6 separate regions of the Homo sapiens genome follow, and regions 1, 2, 3, 5 and 6 are each linked to region 4. The links are contacts of gene promoters, found by promoter capture Hi-C in human tissues and cell types (Jung and others, 2019). All regions are on one chromosome and are shown on one strand. The core of a region is centred on a gene start or on the middle of the fragment in contact, and the rest is flanking DNA. Distances in the headings are between cores, read along the strand shown.

Evidence for each region. The method cuts DNA at HindIII sites, captures the fragments that hold promoters and counts their contacts. A contact is called where the count stands out against the background at its distance.
Region 1: a fragment that was not itself captured here is called in contact with the fragment with the promoter of SKOR2 in region 4 in 2 of the 25 tissues and cell types used here (pancreas and spleen).
Region 2: a fragment that was not itself captured here is called in contact with the fragment with the promoter of SKOR2 in region 4 in 2 of the 25 tissues and cell types used here (spleen and thymus).
Region 3: a fragment that was not itself captured here is called in contact with the fragment with the promoter of SKOR2 in region 4 in 5 of the 25 tissues and cell types used here (heart left ventricle, lymphoblastoid cells, mesendoderm cells and 2 more).
Region 5: a fragment that was not itself captured here is called in contact with the fragment with the promoter of SKOR2 in region 4 in 2 of the 25 tissues and cell types used here (liver and mesendoderm cells).
Region 6: a contact is called between a fragment that was not itself captured here and the fragment with the promoter of SKOR2 in region 4, in 2 of the 25 tissues and cell types used here (bladder and heart right ventricle).

What each region holds. Positions count from the first base shown.
Region 1 is chr18:47,062,130-47,065,180 of GRCh38, forward strand. KATNAL2 (katanin catalytic subunit A1 like 2) reads left to right here. Exons shown (of 18, transcript NM_001387690.1): 9 at 843-941; 10 at 1,155-1,232. Among named protein-coding and RNA genes, the nearest start is that of ELOA2, 28 kb to the left of the region's middle. The HindIII fragment of the contact is 5,865 bases long and covers 1-3,051 here.
Region 2 is chr18:47,396,526-47,399,272 of GRCh38, forward strand. The region is part of intron 1 of MIR4527HG (MIR4527 host gene); the gene reads left to right. Among named protein-coding and RNA genes, the nearest start is that of MIR4527, 17 kb to the left of the region's middle. The HindIII fragment of the contact is 8,960 bases long and covers 1-2,747 here.
Region 3 is chr18:47,488,502-47,491,393 of GRCh38, forward strand. The region is part of intron 1 of MIR4527HG (MIR4527 host gene); the gene reads left to right. Among named protein-coding and RNA genes, the nearest start is that of MIR4527, 110 kb to the left of the region's middle. The HindIII fragment of the contact is 4,740 bases long and covers 1-2,892 here.
Region 4 is chr18:47,250,242-47,252,941 of GRCh38, forward strand. It overlaps SKOR2 (SKI family transcriptional corepressor 2), which reads right to left and starts at 1,419. Exons shown (of 9, transcript NM_001278063.4): 1 at 1,133-1,419. RefSeq lists an enhancer at 1,287-1,803. The HindIII fragment of the contact is 10,120 bases long and covers 1-2,700 here.
Region 5 is chr18:47,098,637-47,101,480 of GRCh38, forward strand. It overlaps KATNAL2 (katanin catalytic subunit A1 like 2), which reads left to right. Exons shown (of 18, transcript NM_001387690.1): 16 at 607-769; 17 at 1,618-1,720; 18 at 2,230-2,844. The coding sequence ends at 2,369. Among named protein-coding and RNA genes, the nearest start is that of HDHD2, 50 kb to the right of the region's middle. RefSeq lists silencers at 1,703-1,915, 1,751-1,860. The HindIII fragment of the contact is 3,099 bases long and covers 1-2,844 here.
Region 6 is chr18:47,458,892-47,461,591 of GRCh38, forward strand. The region is part of intron 1 of MIR4527HG (MIR4527 host gene); the gene reads left to right. Among named protein-coding and RNA genes, the nearest start is that of MIR4527, 80 kb to the left of the region's middle. The HindIII fragment of the contact is 4,473 bases long and covers 1-2,700 here.

The sequences.
Region 1 (3,051 bases), core at 514-3,013, 190 kb before region 4:
AGCCCTTTGGGAGGCTAAGGTGGGAGTATAACTCGAGCTCAGGAGTTGGGAGACCAGCCTGGGCAACATAAAGAGACCCCACTTCTGCAAAAAAAATTTTTTTAATTAGCCAAAAGTAGTGGCGCACATATGTAGTCCCAGCTCTTTGGGAGGCTGAAGTGGGAGGATCCCTTGAGCCCAGAAGTTTAAGGCTGCGGTGAGCTATGATTACGCCACTGCATAACAGAGTGAGATCCTGCCTGTCTCTTAAAGGAAAAAAAAAAAAGGATTAGAAATAATCCTCACAGGATATGGAGAAAAGGGAACTCATACATTGTTGGTGGAAATTAAATTAATTACACTTATACCCAATAAATTTATACAAATTATATACAAAAATAACAAAAAAGAAATAGTTCTCACAAAGAACCTTTCACACTTATTTTGTACCCAGCACTCTATTGAGTGGTGAACGTGTATCACAATCCATAGACAGGAACTCTCATTACCATTGTGCCAATGAGTTCTTTCTGCATGTGTAATATTTTAAGAGGATAAGACCATACAGGGGAAGTCAACATATAAGGGAGGAAGCAGATGGTCTGTGTCAGGAACTGAGAAATACTCATGAATTTTTATTCAAATCCACTTCATTCTGGAAAATGTACTTACAATTTTTTAAGGTGCTCCAACTTGAGGAAATCATCACGTTTAATACTAGTGCTGGTTCTTTTTAAAGCTTAACTTGAAGTTTGCCCTATATACCAGGGTCTATAAATGTGTCTTGGTTTAATGAAACTGAGTTATTAAGAAGAGTCTTCTCTTATGTTCTCATGGCATAAATAACCATTCCTCCCTTTCAGGGCCAAATCATTGACTTCCAAGGGCTGCTCACAGATGCCATCAAGGGAGCAACCAGTGAACTTGCCTTGAACACCTTCGACCATAATCCAGACCCCTCAGTAAGTGGCGAAGATGTGACATTCATCTTTCAAATTGCCAACATCCAGATGAACTCTGGAAATATAATTTTGAGTACAGTGAAACCTTGAGATCAAGTTAAAGGCCATAGCCACCTGCCATCGTTTGTTTCACCAAGACCTGTGCATGCCCGGGGTTTCTTCCTAAATTATGAAGCAATATTGTAATGTGAGCCTTTCCGCTCCTCTCATCAGGAACGACTGCTGAAACCTCTGAGTGCATTTATTGGCATGAACAGTGAGATGCGAGAATTGGCAGCCGTGGTGAGCCGGGTAAGATCTGATATTCAATTCACAAATTTATGGAGGCAGGCTGGGGCTTCTGGAGCTTTGTGGGCTGCTTCTTTTATTAATAACAATAAATATGATCATTTATTTATAAAGTGCCCCCACTTGCGCAGGCACTCATATTGTTTAGAGGCACAATAATGCATGATAAATAAATTATAGAGTCATAAAATTACAATATACAAACCCCACCATCTCATGATAGAGGCCAAGAAAACCAAGAGAGAAAAAGACTTAGGAATGAAGGGACAGGTGAAAGGTTTTATAGCAGAGCCAAGAGTCAAGGAAAGAAAGCCTCTTAAAGAAGAAAAGAGTATGTCTGCATCTGGTTTAAAAAGTCAGAGCCTAGAAATAGAGACGTCGGGAGTCTGATGATATCATCATTGAAAATCTCCATGAAAAACACAATTAGCAGGAAAGACTACCATCCAGACTACGGACTTTTCCAGCTTGCACTGTGGAACCAGAAGGCAGTGAAGAACAGGCTTTGGAATTAGCTGACCTGCCTTTGATTTCTAGATCCTTCTCTTGCTAGCTGTGTGACTTTGGGCAAGTTCCTGGGAAATAAAATAGATTCCTGAGTTATAGGGTATTTTTCTAATTTCTATTGCTTCATATTTAATTGAAGACTGAAACCTAGGCAGGCTCAGAGGGGGGTTTAAAATGATCCCCAAAATTCACAGCTCCTCTGAGAAGCTAAGGGCTCCTGAGCTGTCTCTGTTCAGCTCAGCAGTTGTTTCCTGTATGCCTCTTGTGTGTCAGGTGTGTGCTGTGGGCTGGAGACACAAATGTGAACGAGTCAGAGCATAGTCCTTGCCCTCAAGAGTTTCTCATCCCAGGGACAAAGTGCACTTTAAGAGCATGAAGGAGGGAGGGGTGGGGAAAGTGTTAGGAAAGAAGACAGGAAATCGCTAAGGGAAAAAGTGGAAGAGGGAGGCTAGGAGCTGTTCTGGGCATAGGCACTTCCATGAGAAATTGCAGTTTGTGCACATGTCCTGTGGGCCACCTAAGAAGCAGGGAGTGGTGGGGAACGGGTGGAGAGAGGCAGGGTTCCTGAGGAAGGGTGCTGTGAGCAGTACCCAGGGCTGAGAACACACCTATAGAAGAGGGGACCTTAGAAAGGCGCCCGTCGGAGGATGGGATCATCCCATGTGCTTGTGGATGGCTTGTTCTATGACAGTGAGATGAATGAATAGCAAAGAAAAGGAGATGGGGAGACCATCTATAAGGTTTTTACCAGTGAGAGGGGATGAGGGACTGAGCCAGGCTGCAGTAACCCCAAATTAATAGTCTCATTACCATTTTTGCAAAAGGGTAACATGACTATGAGGATAGAACTATAGAGTGGAAATGGCCTGAGATGATTCCATCTGGAATCCTTTCTATAGTAGCATAGGAGGTAGAAACCCTGCTCCTGCTTGAATGCTTACAGTGACGGAGAGCTCACCACCTCATGAGGTAGTCCTGTTGAGTTCTGACTGTTAACTTTGGATTGATACAAGGAGAAACTGTCAGTTGGGAAATTAAACATTACCTTGTGGAACTCAACTCTAGAAGAGGTCAAGAAATACTGCTGTTATCTATGGATGCTTTTAATACCTAGGTAAATGAATCTTCCTTGTGTGCCGAGATTTCACTAAGAAAGGACGGTAATAAGAATGTGAGTGGCTGGTGGGCCTGCATGTAGATCCAGGCTCTATAGACAGAATAAGGAAGACTGAGTCCTTTCTCTACCCTTCAATCCAAGAATGGATTGTAAATATCATGCATGACCAAAGTACTTTTATAAATACTTTCTCTAGAC
Region 2 (2,747 bases), core at 110-2,609, 150 kb after region 4:
AGGGTCACATATAGAATTCCACGAGGAGACAAATATGACAGATGCCTAGCAGCCGGTGCCAGCCTTGAGCAGAAGAGAAGTTGGAGATGGTGATCTCTGGCACCCTTGGTCTGCCACCCTTGCCCAGGCCCGTTTCCCCCTCACTGGACTCCCACTCTCCTTTCAGCTGCCCACTGCGCCCTATGTCCTTATCTGCTTAATGTAATCCCAATCTCATGGAAAGGCCTTCTACCAGTTAGCTTGCATCATAACATGACTTTATAGAAAATCATGGAGGGACAACTGAGGATATGGAATTTACCCCCATTCCCTTTTATTTGACAGAAAAGAAAATTGAGGTGCAGAGAGGAGAAATCTACCTCCAAACTATATACAGAAAGTCAGTGGCAGGCTGGAAAGGGAGCCTAGGACTCCTGACTCCTAGTCTAGTGTGTGCATATGTGTACAATGTGTGCACTGGGTGTGGGTGCACGTGCATGTGTGTGTGTGTGCATGTGTCTATTTCCTGTTTGCATTTTAAATTTCATTTTGCACGGTGCAATTGAAGACATCCCCTCCTGCTAAGGAATAGAGACTTCAGGGAACACATGGGGAAAAACTGACAGCAGGGTATAGTCCTGATCTCTTAACATAGAGGTGGATGCCTACTCTACCTAGTCAGAGATTGAAGTCTCTTGACAATCAGTGAAAAGGAGGCAGATAGAAAGACCCACAGCTGTAGAGAAAATGAAGAATAGATCTGGAGCCAGGGCGGCTGGTTAGGGGAACCTGTTGACATAAGGTTCAGAAAATTCAGGTGCAGAGCTTTCTACTCTATTACAAATGTTTAGTCCTTAAGGCAGAGACAAGAGCTCAGGGCAGCTTAACTTTGCCTCCAGCTGCATTGGAATCAGAATGGACTTAGACCTGCAGATGCACAGACCAACATGGCAGCTCCTCCTGGGTCCTGGCCTTGCTGCTGATGGGATGAAGGCTGCCTTGGTTAAGGGTGGGCCAAGATTTCTGCTCTGAGGATTTTTCTTTGAAGTTTTATAAATCAGCCAGCAAGACAGCCAATTTCAAGCTGAGATGTCATATTGAAGGCCTCAACCCAAGATCAATTGCTGGCTGACTTTGATTCTCTGTCATGGAGCCTGGGCCAGTCTTGCCCCAACTGGGACATAGTCAAATCTTGACTTTTGATGCTTTCAACTCAGCCCTTCGTTCTTTTCTTGGCCCCAACCCTGCTCCCCGGGCAACTATTTTCCATGTTAAGGGGTTCATCGATTACCCTTTTGCCCTGGAGTACACTGATTCCAGAGGTGTTACCCCTCAGAGAATATCCTGCAATTTGGCTATGCTGCCATAAGGGGGCGATAGTTCCATTGACCAGGTACTAAGAATGGTAACGTGAGAGGAGAAAACTAGCAGCTGTAGTGTTCAGTTTGGCAGTGCCTTTTTAAAAATCTTGAATTCGTCACAAATATTTTAACAGTAGGAGCCTGCCCATAAAAATTCCGATTTGGGGCTTCTTTTGAAATATCAGGATATCTAGCAACATTCCCTCCAGCAGACAGCCAGCTGGTGCTGAGTAGGGACTGCCGCCTTGGGGCAGGATGTGCAGCCTCCTGTGGCCACTGTCCTCACCTGGCTGGCAGCCACTCATTTACATTACCCGTCTGCTTCCCAAAGCCCCTGTTTAAGCTTTAGGCATATTTGAGCTAGAGAGAATATTAATTAAAAAATTTAAATAGCATAGCTTTAAAAAAGTTAAAGCATCTGAACTTAGGTGGCAACCAAGGTCTGCACTTCCTTAGGATCAACTTTCAAGTAGACAAAAATCTAAGATTCTTTGATAACTCTCTTATACACTTGTCTTAAACTTGAACCAATTTCAGTTTTCAGAATATACCACACTTTCTCTTGATGGTGATCAATCATCCTCGATTGCCTGGTACTTAGGGCTTTCCTAGAATGTGGAACTTTGAGTGCTACAAAGAAGAAAGTCCTGGGCAAACCAGGACACATTGTTCAACCTGCTTATCTGTGGGCCACGCTGCCTACCTGGAATGCCTTCCCTTGGCCTGGCTCACCACTCCCGCACCCTTCGGGTCACAGCTTAGACAAATCTGCCTTGATTACCCCTCTCCCTACAGCCTGCACCAGGTATCCCCACTCCCCCTTGCACTGCAGTCTCCATCTGTGCTAATTTATCTGCTCACCTGTCTGCTTCCTGCTAGACCATGAGCTCCCAGGCATTGGCTCAAGGGTCTCCCACTCAAGGCTGAGCTCCCAGCACACAGCACAGTGCATGGCCCAGAGTAAGTGTTGAGTGCTGAATACAGACTAATTCCTCAATGATAAGGGGCAGGCACGATGTATAACTTGGATGTGCACCCCTTGCAGGCATGGGACATGGCAGGTGCCCAATAAAGCGTTTATTGTATTGAATTGCATTAAACTGGGCCAAAGATTTGGATGGACATAGATCTCTTCTGATGAATGAAGAGGATAAAGTGAAATAATGATCTCTCATGACAGTCTCTTTCACCCTGTTTTGACTGTGACTCTTCTTTTTTATTTCCTGGGTGTTCCTCATTTTCCTAAGTAGACACTAAGCCCTCCTGTGGGCAGATACCATGCCCTATGCAATTTGTGTGTTCCTCTTTTAACAGGCATGCTAAAAGAAAAAAAAAGACATATTGAATTGATGTGTTTCAACCAAAGTGGGCCTTCTAGTGAGGGGCTGATTGTATGTTAAAATATTC
Region 3 (2,892 bases), core at 230-2,729, 240 kb after region 4:
GAGGCAAAAATGTGTGGTGATAAAGGACAAGCCTGGAGCCAGAAGTCCTGGCTACTGGTTCTGATGCTAACCTTGCTCTTGGCTGTGAGGTGTTGGACAAATCACTTTCCCACTCATGGAGTGCAAGGGCATCAGTGGTTTTCAAACTGTGTTCACTGACAATCCCGGAGCCCCACCATAGGCAGGAGGTGAGGGAAGGAGAAAGGCCCAGGTGACAGGGAGGTGGTTGCCCAAGTTGTTTCAACCAGAACAGCCTTACTTTTCTGCATTTTGTGCATTGGGCTGCCAAAGGAGATTTGCTTTGGCAAAGGGTTCTATTGCTTGGACAAGTTTGGCCACCATTCTATCTGGTTGGTGCTCTCTTGGCTCCCATGTGGGAAAGTTTATGGGAAAGTCCTAACAGAGAAAGAGCTCCTACCATCTTGACCCCCAGGAAGGTGACCCAAAGGAAGTGAGAGAGATGTCAGAAGTTTAGAGTTTACAGAAGTAGCAGGGGAGACAGTTGGAGACACAGGCAGCAAACACAGGCCACATGGTGGAGTTTGAACTGTATCTTGATCAGGAAGTCTTTGAAGTGTTTTAAACAAGGAGGCACAGTCAGATTTGGAACTAAGAAAGATCAAGCCTGAGGTATGGTCACATGGCCCAGGACACTCCTGAAACAGCGCCTCCAAAATGTATCTGGAACAAACTTTTCCCTAGCCTCTGCCTCCATCTTTCTCTCCATGCCTCTCCTTTGGGAGGTGATGAGGTGGATCGGGGTTCAGAGGAAAGTAGAATTGACAGGTAAACAATAGAGCCTGGATCCCCCTGCAGGCTCTCAGCTCTTTGAGGACACCCCTCCCCTCTTTCCCCTCAAGCTTCCTACAATGAGGACAAGGAGACCACCCCTTGGGGGCTCCCCTCCTGCTCCAATCAATTCTCCTCAATTACCAACAAATCTAAATGTGATTTATCTGTGCAAGAATCATTCCAATATCACGCGAGAATCTATCAATAAAACCCCCAAGGCAATCTTGCTTAGAGTTGTCAATAGAAGCTCTAAAGCACAAAGGCATAGCAGCTAGCAATCAGGGTATTTTTGCCTCCCTCCCCCCTTTTTGGGGAGCACTTAATTAAGTCGACCAGAAGCTGTCAAAGATAATTTTCAAAGCACATGACCTCAGCAGCTGACATTTGATAATATTACATTCCACGTTGATTGAAATTGATTTTCCCCTCTTTTTGGGGGGGATGGAGAAAAGGGGGGAGGGTGAGGTCACAGAAGAGGGGAGGCTTAGATCTCTTTCACTGTGGTACTCAGCCCAGACCAGCAACGTGTGGGGTCACCACAGGCAGGCTGTTGGGCTCTCCTACCTTCAATGGAACCAGGGCTGGGCAGCTGTTTTCCAGCTGAGCCGCCATCCAGAGCCGGTGGGTGGAGCTCCACTTGGGAGGAAAGATACAAGAACCTGGTGTGCAAGGACCGGAAGCTGACACACAAATAGCACCCAGCAAAGTTGACGGTATCCAATGGCCTCTGTTTGCTGGGAAGATATTGGCACTAGAGGGGCAGAGCACAATGAGAGGTGGCAATTGGCTGGTTTTGGTTAAGTTTGTTTCTCACATTTGGCCATTTAGTCTATAATGGATGTGCTAGGTCACTATGGAGGTTGGCTTTCCTTTGACTTTACTGCTGTTAGAGAAGCTCATTCCAGCATCTCCAAAACCCCCACCCCGAACCCTCCTCTGAACCTGAATAAGGGCATGCCGGCAGTCACAGTCTTCTCATTACTCCACCAGTGCAAATCTCTAAATTCCTCAATAGACCCAGAGTAGTCCTCATGCAGACACCCACCCCTCATCCAAATGATGTTCATCCTCGGAGTAGGCTCAGCCTTGGTTCTTGTCCTACAGTGCGTGTGGGATGCTGACCATTTGGCTTCTTGGTTTCTGGATCCTTGGCATTAACTCCTGGTGTTGACTGACCCCTTGGCTGACCAGTTTGTGTCTTACTTCTGGCTCTAGGTAAAAAGGAGGTCTCTAACCTCTGTTCCCAATCCTTGGTTTTTCATGTGTTCCTGCTTTGAAGCACTGGCTGGGACCAGAACACTGACCTCCACACTGGACTTAGTGCATGGACAGGGCATTGCAGACTCAAGATGAAGTTGCATTTAAGATCTCAGGCCCCTGGTTGGTTGTGCTCTTGGCATATTTGTATCCCTAGCATGGACACCTTCTTTCCTAGGTTTTTGAGGCCTTGGGCTGAGGTTTTCTTTAGAGACCTCTGCTAAGACTTCTTATGGAGGGAAGGGAAGGAAACCTTGAAGACACTTCCCCACTACCCAGGATTTTCCACTCCTAGCCTTCCCCCTTGACATCCTCCACCCCCAGCGTCCCTAAAACTAACAGAGCTTTTGGTCTGAGGCTCCTCAACAGTGAGATCAGCCCCACGTCTGTGCCGTTCCGAGGGAAAACAGAACAGAGAGAGCTGGTATTTCCTCCAGTTTTAGACTCTTGCTTTTACCACTGCAGGAAGTGATTCAAGGCTTAACCCTTTCATTTTTGGCTTGTCATTTTAATCAGCCTCTCTGACACCTGACAGCTCAGCACCCTCTCCCAGCTCAGCTGAGCTCCTGCCAACTTTAACACATGAGTGACACTGACTAGATTGAGGCCTGGGAAAGGCATTCCAGGAAACGGGTATGGCATAAAGGAGGTAAGAGGCACAAGCAGCTCTGGGGCTTTTTCAGCCAATCTTGAGCTGGAGGAGATAATAGTGAAGAGTGTACAGCTACGAAGGGGAGGGGAGTTTAGACTTGGTGCAGGAGGCACAGGGCCCACGAGGTCTTGGTCCTATTCATACATCCTGTTTTAAAAAGGAAAAACAAGCCATTATAAGTTTTGAGCCAG
Region 4 (2,700 bases), core at 169-2,668:
ACTAGGTAATCTATGGGAGTGTTGAAAGTCGAAATCCCAGGTTGGGTCTGTGGTAAAATTTCTAACTTCACCTCCAGTCAACAGAATGCCACAATGAGGGAAAATATTCAGTAAGTTGAAAATACAGAACAAGGAAGCGGAAAGAAATTTTAGTGACAATGCCACTAAGTGGAAAGAAGGAAAGTGGCTCACTCCCTAGGAAAACAAACACTGATCTTTCCACAGCTACATCTCAAGCGCATTGGCCAAGGCATGCTTTGCCCTGAAAAATCACCAGAGGCCATAGCGTGGCCCCTTTCGGCCACGTACAGCGAGTTCGCTATTACAGTGCTTTCAGAGGGTACACGATCTTACTCCCTCACCCAATTTCTTATCCGTGTCCTCTCTCTGGGCCCCTGTGGCATCTATACAGCAGCCTCTGTCCTGCTGCCCCCTGGATCCTCAGTTCTCATTACATTTGGCGGCCTCCAGGAAGCTTGAACAAACCTCGACGCGATCAAAGGAGAGGAAAGCCTGCTTGTCACTTTGGGTGGATCAGAGACAATATTTCCAGGGGACAGGGCGTTACATGGCAGTTCAAGGCGCAGTGACACCCGAGTCTGATACAACCAACACTAGCTTCGTCAGGTGGCCCTTCGATGCTCATTTCCCTACCAAACAAGATTCATATCCGCTTAATAAGACCCTGGGATAATTCCAACTCTCGCTCCCCAGCAAGGCGCGCGGCTGGCCAGCCGGGGCGGGAAGCTGGCTCTGCGTTAAGGACTCGCAGCCTTAGCAGCAGTAGACCAGGCAGAAGTGTCTCCTCACTTTTACCCCAAGCCCTCCCAGAAACTGCCGTCAGAGCAGACACAAGGTTTTGGTTGGGGCATTATTTTTTGGGTGGGTGGGGAGGGGAGAAGAGACAATTAAAAGTTAGTTGAACTGAGAAAGGAACCTGGTGAACTTCCCTATCCTGCCCAACAGCCAAAGACCCCCCCACCCCCAACTTAGTTCTCCCGACTCCCAAACCAGTCACCACGGAAGCCCACCGCTGCCCCTCAACCTAACGCGGAAAATCCTACCGCTGGGGATCTCAAATAGGTGCCCAGCAAGCTGTGTGCCGGATTGGGGCGGCCGGTTCCGGCAATACCTGGTAACCTCTGGGTGTCTTTAGGCGTGTGGCTGCCGGCCCATCTTCCGAGGGCGCTCGGAGGCGAAGCATCCAAGCGGGTCCTCGTATCCAGCGGGCGGGACTCTGGCGGGCTCCGCGCGAAGATCCGGGCTCTGGCCCGAGCGAATGGCGCTCAAACCCCGGCCTGGGGAGAATGACGGCCTGAATTGCGGCGGGGCGTCCCCTCCACCGCAGAAAGTGTGGGTACGCAGAAACCCGCGGCAGGAGAGCCCCAAGTGGAGCGCAGTCTGACAGCGTCTGTCTCTGAACTCGTGTCGGACCGAGGGGACGCCACCCAGCGGGCAGGGTGACGTCACCGTCTCCCTGACACTCCACATTAAAGGGCTGGCATGTTACAGGGAGGGAGGGGGAGAGCGAAAGCCAGCGCGAGCAACAGAGAGATCCTTTCTCAGCAGGCACGAAAGCTACCAACCTAACCAACTCGCAATTGACAACAACCTCCTCAGCCCCGGAGTAAACTGCAGCAATGGTGCTGGAGCCGCAGATCTGATTTAGGAGTGGAAAGCGAACAGTCTGCCTGCATCCCGGGACCTAGATCCTGGAGGCCCCGGATTCTAGAAGGACGCCTCCAAATTAACTATATCCCTGACCGTTATTGTCTCCTCCCCTCATTTCTGAGTCACCCTCCTTCATGAATGATCCCTCTGGTACAGGATGCAAAGCTGCTCTGTGTCTGAAGACAGAATCCACAGTCAGCTGGAGAATAAATTAGCTTCAGTGACTCCTTTGAAACGCTATGAAATGAGAAAAAGGAGAGAAGTTTCCACATAGGGTGCCCAATCAGAAAACTTGGAGTGCCCCGACTTTTGCATATACATTTGCTTTATAGGACAAGATGCAGAGTCACTGCAGCCTTCTCTATTTTATGGAGTGTACAATTAGGTGAGGACCCCAATATGTGCATATGCACATCGATTTATCAAACTTCATTCAGAATCGTCCTCTAACCCATTTTACAAGATCCGTAAGGCTACCTCTACACAAGGAAAGGGTGGGGCAGGGAAGCAGGGAGGTCCCCCACATGGAAGAGTCCTTCAGCAAGTTGCCAATTTTCCTGGAGAAATAAATAAATTTAATCAGGAAAACATGTAGAAGCATGATCTCCTCCCCTAAAATAAAGACTAGGATGAGAAAACATTTCCTCACAGTTTCCCTAAATGAGGCGCACCCTAGTGTATTAATGAAGTGTCAATATAGTGCGTCCCAATTGACCAGCTGTTAAGAGTCAAAACGACCACTGGCTAGTTTATCGGAAAGGAAAGAAACCACTTATTTGGAGTATGTTCTAAGAAGGATGCCGGCTGGGGTGGGGCTGGGAAATCCTTTAAGTTTTTCCTTTACTACCATAGCTGAATTTTCAATTGCTGCCTAGTGAAACAGTCCTAGCATTGTGGAAATGATGGAAAAACATCTACCAAGCTGAAAGCCCACCCAGATTGTGTCATAGCACCAACAACATACCACTCCTAAATACAAGAGCAAAAATGTGAAATCTTAACCTTCATCAAAGGTTAATAAACCCAAGG
Region 5 (2,844 bases), core at 150-2,649, 150 kb before region 4:
GGCCTGACAGTTTTGGGAGGAGTAAAAGTGAGTGTCTGAAAGGGCGGTTATTTGCACTGGGCACCCAGGAAGGGCCACTGGTGCTAAGTTCACCAATGTAATGAAGTGAGGGGTCATTCACTCCAGAAGGACTGAGAATTTTGGAAGAATTAATGTACTTAGAGTGCCCAACTTATTGTCAGCAATAATTTACTCACTGGCAAGATCGGACTGAATAATTCATGTTACAACTGCAATCAGAATACTCATGATTGCTGGTTGTTAGTTGGTTTTTGTACCCCAAATTAAGTCGCATAAAATTACTTCCTTTTCATTAGTTCTGAGAATGTGCTCTTTTCCTTTTCTTCCATTCATCCTTCCTTCCTTCTCTTTCTTCTCCTTCCTTTCTGCTTTCCTCTCTTCCCTTCCTTCCCTCCCTCAGTTCTCTTTCTCACCAATTCTTTCTCCAAATAATATTAATTGTCCCATCCACTCAAGGCATAGATGTAGAGTGACAGTTAAAATGCAGAATTGCTTCCTGCAATGCTAAATTGTTCTTAAAGTACAGTTGTTGTTCAGGAAGTGTGTTTGCAGCCCTGTCCAGCTCCATTTCTGGTGTGATTTCAGGGAGCTGGACTGTGCCATGTTACGCCGCCTGGAGAAGAGGATTCTGGTCGATCTCCCCAGCCGGGAGGCCAGGCAGGCCATGATCTACCACTGGCTGCCTCCTGTGAGCAAGAGCAGGGCCTTGGAGCTGCACACAGAGCTGGAGTACAGTGTGCTGAGCCAGGTCAGCTGCCCTGGAGAGGGGCACATGTAGGTCAAGGGCCCACCATATGGCCATCTTGTAGACCAGGTCTTACCATGAGCTGATAGAAGCTTGAGACACTTAGAATAAGATCCAAGCTGCCCCCGTAATGCAATGGGCATCTTCACGAAGAATAAGCTCCTTTTCACTTAAAAATATTCAGAGAAGGAGAAACAATGTGAGGCAGTGGAAACAGCATAGGGTTTAGACTCAGAGAACCTATGGTCAAATCCTGGCCCTGCTGCTTGTTAGCTGTGTGACCTCGGAGAAGTCACTTACTCTTTGAGCCTGTTTCTTCATCTGTAAAATGGGTAGCAGATGAGCCACAAAGAATGACTGTGATGATTACATAACAGAAAAACTCCAGGTACATGTCTATTATGCCCATTATCACTGGTGTCCATTCCCAGGGTGTTGCAGAAATGTTGCCTGCTTTTGGTGAACATTTGAACACAATGTTCTCTGAGGTTCCTAAATGGCAGGTATGATCTTATTTACAAGAATAAACGTGCCTACCAAATTTGACCATCCTTGGATTTGAGCACAGGGGCCCTGATAGGCTAACTTGGGTGTTCTGATCCTTCACTGGCATCTTACAGCATATTTCGATGGTGTTAGAAAGCCATTCTAGCCCAGCTGCTTAGGTTATCCCAACATGCTAGCAGGGTCTCTTCCTCAAGCACTGTTTATCTGGGAATCTTTTTAGGATGTTCATGGGTGACAGATACAGAATCTACACAGGGCTTCTGATACTGGGTCCTGCCTATAACAACGTAATGGCCAGGAGCATTCTGCCCACTGACCAATGGCTGGTTTTTTGGCTGTTTCAGGAGACTGAGGGCTACTCAGGCTCAGATATTAAGCTCGTCTGCAGGGAAGCAGCCATGCGGCCCGTGAGGAAGATCTTTGATGCACTTGAAAATCACCAGTCAGGTATGGGTTGGATCACCATGAAGGTGTTCCAGGAATTTGTGTAAAAATCCCTCTCACCAGCAGATGGAGCCTGGCGCCTGTTCTTGGTGCCGCTTTACACTTGGCAATGCGTTTTTTGGTCAAATCATCCCTCACTCAACTCATTCCTCCGTGGGTGTTCTGATTTGGATCGACTTTGCTTGCAGATGATAAACTCCTTAGGGCTCAGGCTTTTATTTCTCTGGCACACTCTGATGTTGGGCTGGATCCATTTGAGGCACTATATAAATATTAAATAATACCTGGTAACGATACATTTAGGTCACATTTTTTTGTCTGGGCCTTAGGGGCTAACTCAGTTGCACGTTAAAGAATTTTTCCCCAGCCCTCTTTAGTCTTGCCTTTTGCTGCATTAACAATTAAGAATGCTGCATTATGCATTATTTTGAAAGAAGGTCTATTAGCGTTTCAAGAGCATTGATCACCAAGAGGTCGATTGTTGTGCTGTTACTGTTGTGTTCTTATCCTAGAAAGCAGCGACTTACCCAGGATCCAGTTGGATATAGTAACCACTGCCGACTTTCTGGATGTGCTAACTCACACCAAGCCCTCCGCAAAGAATCTGGCTCAGAGATACTCAGACTGGCAAAGAGAGTTCGAGTCTGTCTGAAACCACATTTACCCTGACCTGGCCACAAAGGCAACCACAAAGACCTCCTAGTTTATTAATGTCCGTGGGAGAACAAAATGATTGGAATGGAAAAGAGAAAATTATTTTTGAAGACTGGATTAACTTGAGCCACTGTATTGTTTTGGATAGCTGAGATATATTTATTAACTTACCATTATCGATGTCAGCAAAATATTGAGAGTTTCAGTTACATACATATATGTGCTATTGGGTCATACAATGGAGATTTTTCTGACAATTAGACTCCATAAAATTTTAATGAACAATTTTCTGTAATGTTACTCATTTGTAAACTTTTTAAGAAAAAGATGTACTTAGAAAAGTTGTGTTGGCCACACACAGGATGACCCTGAGTTGGGGCAGCCAAGTAGAAGCTAAGCTTGACAGGCACTGCCCAGCTGACAGTCCCAGGGTGAAGGAGGACGGAAGCAGGGAAGGCAATGCAGTCTGTTTC
Region 6 (2,700 bases), core at 173-2,672, 210 kb after region 4:
GGAAGGAGAGAGAGAGAGATTGATTTTCAGTGTATATTGTTACCACTGTGGTTACTCCAGGAGAGAGGACACATGGAAAGGGCTATTTGTTGGGACTTCCAGCTGTTCCGTATGTATTTATCAGCCAGATTCTAGCCCCCTGGGCACCCTCTGAGTTTCCTTCCAGTTCTGACCATACCTGGACTTCTAGCAAGCTTCCTTCCCTCCCCTTTTCCTTCCTGGGCCCGGACCTGAGCCAAAGTGTAAAGTTTGCATATTTCATCTACAGTGCTCCTGCCTCCCTGCTTTACCATCTCCTCCATCTGAGACCCCATTATCTCCAACCAGGCCCATGATTATCTTCCCCACTCCCTTCAAAACCTCATCTCAGGAAATGTGTGCGTGCATGTATGTGCATGCATGTGTGCATGTGTGTGTTTGCAGGGGTCACATGATTTATTTCATTCACATGAGGGTAAATGACCCAGGGCAATGCAACAGGGCTTCTTTTTTCAGGGGTATTTGTACCTCAACAGAGATCAACTTGTATAATCAAACAACTTACTTTTGGGGCCTAGAACCGGGAAGGAAGAAGGAATGGGAAGGAGCTTTAGTTATTTCCTTTCTATGTCTTTGTATAGTTTGACATTTTTTCCAGTGAAGATGCATGATTTTTATTATCATGGTCTCCTATCTCAAGTAGATGAACAAGCAGCCTAAAGAGGACATTTAAGGCATCAGCCAGAGGCAGTTAGCCATTCTTCTCCTTGACAGTCCCAACCCTCTGAAGTCACCTGCCTGGCATGGGAGCTGCTCCTGGGCTGACCTGTGAAGACAGGAGGTTGGTCAACAAGGCCAGAGAAGGGGGAAGTAAACTGGGTGGGGCAAATGGGGAGAGAGCCAAGAAACGCCTCCTGAAGCCCTTGTAGAATCTGGATTTTTGCGAGGGATTGAAAGTCTCCCCGCAAGACAAAGAGCAGCTATGGCTTCTTAACTGTGACAGATGTGAATTCTACAAAGCTGTGGAAGAAACATTCTACCCGAAATGAGTGCCTGCTCTGCATTGGCAGGATTTGGACAGTTTCTGCCCCTGGAGAGACAGAACTACAGGATGACTTGGGTGGTCACATAGGTGGGCGCTGGAGGCAGAGGGCCCAGATTTGAATTACAGTTTTGTCACTTGCTTTCTAGTAACCTTGGGCAAGTTACTCAAGCACTTTGGACATCAGTTTTCTCGTCTGTAAGGTGGGAGTAATAGTAGCATCCACCTCACAGGGATGTTGTAAGCATTAAAGGAGTCAAAAGGGTACATGCACTTAGAACATCAGCTGGCACATGGAACATGCTATATGTTCATTAGCCATTAGGAGAGTTGACGAAATTGTAGCTTTTTGTCTCTGAGTGCAGTGGGGCTTGGGCTGGCCTAAGCTGGTATGCAATGTGAGTTCAGGTCTGTTGATGCATGCATGGAAGACAGGGGCTGTCCTTAGTCTACCTGCATGGGCACTGAGGAACTCCTGGGGATGAAGCCCTTCTGAGGTAGAGCATGTATTGTAGGTCCAGGTCTGTCAAAGGAGTGTGATTCTGTACAATGACTGGTTTTCAGACTGACCCCCTCCTGGTCCTCAAGACCCAGGCCTGGTTCCTAGAGAGGCTAGAGGCTGCAGGGAAGGAACGAACAAGCAAAATTGATAGGAGCTGACAACAAGCATTTGTGTAAGGCACAGAGAACACCAGGCAGCAGCCTCTGCTCAGGGTCAGTAGAAGTGAGCATGGGGAAAACCTGCAGGGAGAGTCTGAGCAACTGCGCCTGACGCTGTACCCCGAGGCCTGAGCTGGGCAGAAGAGAAGACTAAAGACCAAATCTCGTGGTAACTGGGAGACATCCCCAGGACTCCTTGGCAAAAATTGGAGGTGGCAGCAGTTGCCGTAGAGTGAGTAGGATCAATCCTAGAAAAAAGGTGAGCTTGTTGTAATAAAAGGAAAAACCTAAAATGCTGTTTATGATGGCACCTGCCGTCTAAGGAGATGGGGGGCCTATTTCAGAAAAGGCCAGTTAACTCCTGTGAAGTTTCTCAAGCTCTTGGTGCTGAAGGAGTAGTTTTATTTAAAAAATTTTTCAATTTGTCATATACTGATACTTTTGGAGAATCAACAAAAATGAATCATTAGAAACATGAAATTAAAAAAATGTACAAACTACAAGCCCCAATTTTTCAAATTATTAGAATCCACAGACATAAAATTACCCCATCAAACTGCTGTGAGTTTGTAAATGCCTAATCTCAATTTCTGGACTTATTTCTTCATGGACTGGTATCAAAAGTTCAGGGCCTGCCCTGATCAATCTAGGATCAATCACTGTGAGTCACATGGGATCTGATCTCATGGAGACACTGATGTTGGGATCAGCAGTTAAGGGCTATCTGCCTCAAGACTAAGGAAGTGGGAAGACTGTGTTAATGTCCTATGGTTGCCACACTGAGTGGCTTGAAGCAACAGAAATATATTCTCTCACAGTTCTGAAGACCAGAAGTCCCAAATTAAGGTATCAGCAGGGCCGTGCTCTTGCTGAAGGCTCCAGGGAGACTCTTCCCATGTCCCTTCCTATCTTCTGGTGGCCTCAGGCAATCATCGGCCACATGACTCCAGTCTCTCACTTCATCTTCACATGGCTGTCATCTCTCTCTGTGTCTGCGTGTCCTCAAATCTCCCTCTCCT